Linked DNA regions of Homo sapiens: region 2 is linked to region 1. The links are contacts of gene promoters, found by promoter capture Hi-C in human tissues and cell types (Jung and others, 2019). All regions are on one chromosome and are shown on one strand. The core of a region is centred on a gene start or on the middle of the fragment in contact, and the rest is flanking DNA. Distances in the headings are between cores, read along the strand shown. Region 1 holds the start of DEPDC1B (DEP domain containing 1B). Region 2 overlaps NDUFAF2 (NADH:ubiquinone oxidoreductase complex assembly factor 2).

Evidence for each region. The method cuts DNA at HindIII sites, captures the fragments that hold promoters and counts their contacts. A contact is called where the count stands out against the background at its distance.
Region 2: a contact is called between a fragment that was not itself captured here and the fragment with the promoter of DEPDC1B in region 1, in 1 of the 25 tissues and cell types used here (lymphoblastoid cells).

Annotation. Positions count from the first base shown.
Region 1 is chr5:60,698,561-60,701,461 of GRCh38, reverse strand. It overlaps DEPDC1B (DEP domain containing 1B), which reads left to right and starts at 1,296. Exons shown (of 11, transcript NM_018369.3): 1 at 1,296-1,416. The coding sequence starts at 1,369. LOC124900982 (a long non-coding RNA gene) reads right to left here and starts at 1,222. Exons shown (of 2, transcript XR_007058779.1): 1 at 1,121-1,222. The HindIII fragment of the contact is 4,370 bases long and covers 1-2,901 here.
Region 2 is chr5:61,016,004-61,018,703 of GRCh38, reverse strand. The region is part of intron 1 of NDUFAF2 (NADH:ubiquinone oxidoreductase complex assembly factor 2); the gene reads right to left. Among named protein-coding and RNA genes, the nearest start is that of NDUFAF2, 72 kb to the right of the region's middle. The HindIII fragment of the contact is 4,704 bases long and covers 1-2,700 here.

The sequences.
Region 1 (2,901 bases), core at 47-2,546:
TTGCCTTGGTCTCTCCTTTTGCCTTATGCCCCTCAGTCGAACTCTTTCTTCTGAGGAGTCAAGAATTGAGGTTGCTGCAGATCTGTAGGAATTCACTGCCTGTAACATACTTTGGGGCCGTGTCTCGGATATGGGCAGCTGCTAACATATTTTGGTGCCCTGTGACTCGAGTTAACTTCCACAGCTCACAAAGGCAGTAACATTTTCTAGGGAGTCACTAGAAGATATATGTAAAAAATCTCCTATATCTCCTAGTGGAAGATAGGGTTACTTCGTTAAGAATGTTTATTCAGGTCCACTGCAGCCTTCAATTCCAAGCCTTTGGTGATAAAGGCTATTTTCTCACCGTGGTAGGGAGAGGATGCCCATCCCAGAGAAATCTTTGTGGCCTGCTGCATCGAAGAGGCAGGTCAGCTTGCCCTTTCTGAAACTACCATTTCTCCAATGTTTTCCGCTCGAAATAATCAATATACCAATTAGGCATATTTTGGAATGGCACACCTTCACTCCTTCAACGTCTTGTCCTGGGTACTTACCGAGATGACCAAATTTGAGTAGGTGTACAGAGTCCTAAGTATATGGAGTTACTTCATTTGTCCCTCTGAAAGATTGCAAATCGGACTAGCAATTCCCAGGGGGAAAATTCTAAGCAGTCAAAAAAGGACTCACAACCCTATTGCCGAGGACTAAAAGTATCAGCCCAATACAAAACATAGAACTCAAATTAAAGGGGAAAAGACTATCATGAGAACAAACAGAAGAGGAATCGGGGCTCCCTTCCCGCTCTTTATTGCCCTTAACACACTGTCTACGCTCCTTGTGCTCTCTATCCCGTTTTTAAATGTCCCTACACTGGTAAAAGCTGTCGCCTCGCTTCATTTCACTACCGCTTCTCCCAGCGTTAGCAGCACCTCCAGGCTCACAGTGCACTTGGTAGGGAGGACAGGTATTTATCCACGCGGCCCAAAGCTGGGTTTCGGTCGCTGGATAACACCTATTATTGACCCTTTTGTAGAGATAGCGTTGCGTGTGTTTGTGTTGCGCGGACGCAGAAATCTGGGAAGGGCGCTGCACAGCGTTTTCCAGCGCTGGGGAGACGCCCCCGGCCCCTTAGTCGCACCTGCCTAGGTGTGCTCGCACGGTGGGACCAGGGTGGGCAACAGATTTCGCCCCGGGCAAGTTCGCACGCGGAGCTCCCAGCGCCGCGGGTCTCGGAGAAGACGCCTGCCTCCCCGCGCATTTCCGGTGACGTGCTGCCGCGCCGCCCAATCAGCGCCCGCAGCCCGCGGGCTTGGGATTCAAACTGCTGCTCCTCCGGCTGGCGGGGATCAGCGCTGGCGCGGCTGCGGCCGCTGCTGCCTACGCGCCATGGAGCATCGCATCGTGGGGCCCGGGCCGTACCGAGCTACCAGGCTGGTGAGTGAGTGTGCTGGGGCCTGGGCGGAGCACCCGGTGCCGCGAGCCCCCACTCAGCGCGCGGACAGAGTGCTTGTCAGTCTTCGCTTCCGCAGGCCAGCGGGGCTCGGGTGTGGAGCATTTCAGCTGGGACTACTGGGGCTGCCTTTTAGTGGACGAGCCTCAAAGAAAGGCTAACGGGGCCCAGAGCTCAGCCGGCCGGGGGTTAGTGCAGCTTTGTCCATGAGATGTTGACTGGGTTCTCGGCAGTAGATGGCGCCTCTCTGTTTAAAGACCCCAAGACCAGGCTGTTCCCTGCCTTTTGTCCTCTGGAATCTAACCGACCCGGTCGGTAACCTGAGGGGCCACCACGTACCCCGTAACGCTCAGCGTTCGCGGCAGTCCAGGCAGGGCGTGTCTCCTTCCTGAGTGACACCTGATGATACCTGACGGGGTATTCGAATAAACGGTGCCCAGAACAGAGGGGCATCGCGCTGGCCGCATTTCCGGCCCCTGGCGTTTCTGTTTCTGTCAGCACCGATCCAGATGAAGAGCTGGCCAGGACAGATGTTTTAGGAGAGTCTTTGCCGACTCTGAGTTCCTGTTTTTTTTTTTTTTTTTTTCTGGGAGAAAAGCTTTGGTATTGAGGTGTACTTGGTCTGCTTTGACTTGGAACAATAAAGGGTGACAGTTTGGTAATGTCTGTGGCAAGTTTTTAGAGGACTTTCTGTGGAAGTGTAATGGTAATTTGGGAGGACAGTAACTTGCTCCTTGGTCTGCCGACCTCTCTGGCCACATTTAACATGGGAATTACTCTCATAGTTCCATGCATTATAATGAATACACAGGAAAAGATGGGAACTAACATCCAAACTCTTACTCAGCTAGACTCATGGAAGAGGTGAGGATGCTGGGATACAGATAATGTAAATAGAGTTTCCTTTTCTTTCCAAAGCCAGCCACACACTATACCAGTAAGTCAAGCCAGAGCTGAGAAGGCCAGCTTCTGGAAGAGAAATCATAGTTGGGGCTGATGGGTCTTTACTTTTTAAATTTGGCTCATAGATCGCTTTGAGAATCTGATGAAGATTAAGGATCTTCTTCACAGAAAACTGCACATGGCACATACTCATGAAATTTTACATGATTTAAGGGGATGGATCGCTTGAGGTCAGGAGTTCGAGACCAGCCTGGCCAACACAGCAAAACCCCGTCTGTACTAAAAATACAAAAATTAGCTGGGCATGGTGGCATGCGCCTATAGTCTCAGCTACTCAGGAGGCTGAGGCAGGAGAATCTCTTGAACCTGGGAGGCAGAGGTTGCAGTGAGCTGAGATCGCGCCATTGCACTCCAGCCTGGGCAACGAGCGAAACTCCATCTCAAAAAAAAAAAAAAATAATAAGGAGATTGGGAGAGTCTGTGACATTGTTTTATTTGGCATAAAGACAAGCATTTTATTTGCTCATCCTTTGGATCAGTAATCTGGGCTAGACTCATGTCAATGG
Region 2 (2,700 bases), core at 196-2,695, 320 kb before region 1:
TACAAATTTAAGAACACTACAAACTACATTTTATTATAAATGCATAAATACATCTCATGTTCTAAGTGGTAAACTGGTATTGAATAAATAAAAATACATTTTATTGCCATTTATATAGCTTAAAATACTTATGTTAAATTCTAATTTGTTAATTAAAACATTAATAAAATTTGATGAACTTAAACCAGTGGTATAATGATAAATGTTTAATAATCTTCTGGGCACAGTTCCAACATAAATACTGATTGGATTAAACTTATTTGAATATTGGAAGACTGTTTCCTTAATTTTTGTGAAATTCAGAATATAATGACTATAGACACGACATGCATTAACATTTTCTCTATCACTTCCTTAAGCACAATCAACAAAAGAATAAATTAAGCCCTGATTTGTAGCATTTGCCAATTCCTGTGGTTTAAATAAATACTCTTTTATGGCTAAGTTCAGGCTCTAACATGATGTCACTAAATGTGAAGTTAGGAAGACACACCCGGTAGCCAGCCATTATATATTATTTTACCATATAAATATGATAGGCATAAATAACCTCAAGAGCATAGATAACAGTAAAATGTAGTAAGCTAATTAGAAAGTACTGAGTTTTAAGTATTTACTACCTTTGTATGTACTTATAATTAAATAAGTTAATATGAGGATGCAGTGGCTCACGCCTGTAATCCCAGCACTCTGGGAGGCCGAGGTGGGCGAATCACTTGAGGTCAGGAGTTCAAGATCAGCCTGGCCAACATGGCAAAACCCCATCTCTACTAAAAATACAAAAAAATTAGCTGGGTGTGGTGACGCATGCCTGTCATCCCAGTTACTCGGGAGGCTGAGGCACAAGAATCTCTTGAACCTGGGAGGTGGAGGTTGCAGTGAGCCGAGGTCAAGCCACTGTATTCCAGCCTGGGCAACAGAGTGAGACTCCATCGCAAAAAAAAACATAAATAAATAAATACAAAGAGACAGGGTCTCCCCTGTGTTGCCCAGGCTAAACTCAAACTCCTGCGCTCAAGCAATCCTCTACTCCTGCCTGTGTGTTTCACAGAGTTGAGACTATAGGCACATACCACCCTGCCCAGCTACTTCAATTTTTACTAATGTTTATATTTAACAACTAGTTTACAAAATTTCCAATCAGTTCTAACGGGCTGGTGCAAGCTGGCTCCACCACACCACTGAAAACCCACACTTTTGCTTTCTGAAATTTTACATAATGAAATTTCACATAAAATCATACATTCATTTTTTTGTCTCAAACATTCTACAAAGTTATCTAATTTAGCAAAAGTCAATTAATTAAAAAAAAAAGTGTGCCCAAAGAAAACCCGAATCAATAATCTATTTGTTTACATTTTTAGTTCAAAGCTTCTACAAAGATTTTTAAATTTAGATTAATACAGAAAGGACTCCCATGCTTAATTCTCTGAGTCTGAGGTGTTTATTTTGCCCTAATATACCCTGTCAACATAACATCAGTATGAATTTGTCTTATTCCAAAATCATCTTATTAGGACATAATCAGTTATTTTAGAACTTACTACCTATTGTAAGCTGTTTGACGCCTACCTCTATCTCATTCGAATAGAAAAAAGCAAGAGTGAAAAGTAGAGAAAGGAATATGCTTTTGATTTGAGGCAAATGTTGAGTTTAAAAATGAAGAAGAGAAAACGAGTACAGTAAGGGACTTGAGCATCCTCAGATTTTGGAATCCTTGTGAAGCCTGGAACCAATCCCCTGAGAATACTAAGGATGACTACTTTCTTCGGGATAGGCCTGATCTTACCAAGTGTGGCCAGGCACCAGGTGCTGGATATCCCAGATACATCAAGGGTACAATGAGAGGTCAAGGTTACACAGGCACGAACAACCTACCAATCCTTTAAACTGAGACTCAATTATTATCGAGATTTATAAGCCATGTTGATGCCTAAAACTACAAGCTTTGACCACTTTACATGACATTCAGATGATTAAAAAACAGAGGCACTTGATCTGGGATCCTCAGGCTTTGGGGAGAGAACTGTTTCACAGACTCCTACCACAATAGCGGAGGACAGCATAGTAATTACTCAAGCATTTATCTCCACCTTAAGAAATATACTCTGTCAAGACAATATATTAGTGTGGTAGAAGGCAAAATTAGTGAAAAAAGAAGAAAGCTTCAAATTCCCTATTGACAGTTATCTCATAGTTTTCCAACCACATAGTTATTTACCAGCTTTCATGCTACATGGCTGCCACCTACCAGAAATGCATTATAATTTCAATACGCATACAATGAAAGCAATCATCCAACAGGATTTCTTTGAAACTAGCCTTATGTCCCCCAATATATAGTTTTGTAATTTCAGTCTTTTGCTTTTTCATCTTATATAACATACCACTCCCTTCCTCTGCCGCCTTTGGTCCTTTTTGAATTTTATATAAAAAGGGTGCCAAATATATATGTGTCTATAATACTTTTAAATCCCAAAGGTAAATCATTTTACCTCTGTATATATATATTTTTTTTTTAGATAGAGTCTTGCTCTGTTGCCAGGCTGGAATGCAATGGCGTGATCTTGGCTTACTGCAACCTCTGCCTCCTGGGTTCAAGCGATTCTCCTGCCTCAGCCTCCTGAGTAGCTGGGATTGAAGGCGTGCACCACCACGCCCAGCTAATTTTTGTATTTTTTGTAGAGACAGGGTTTCACC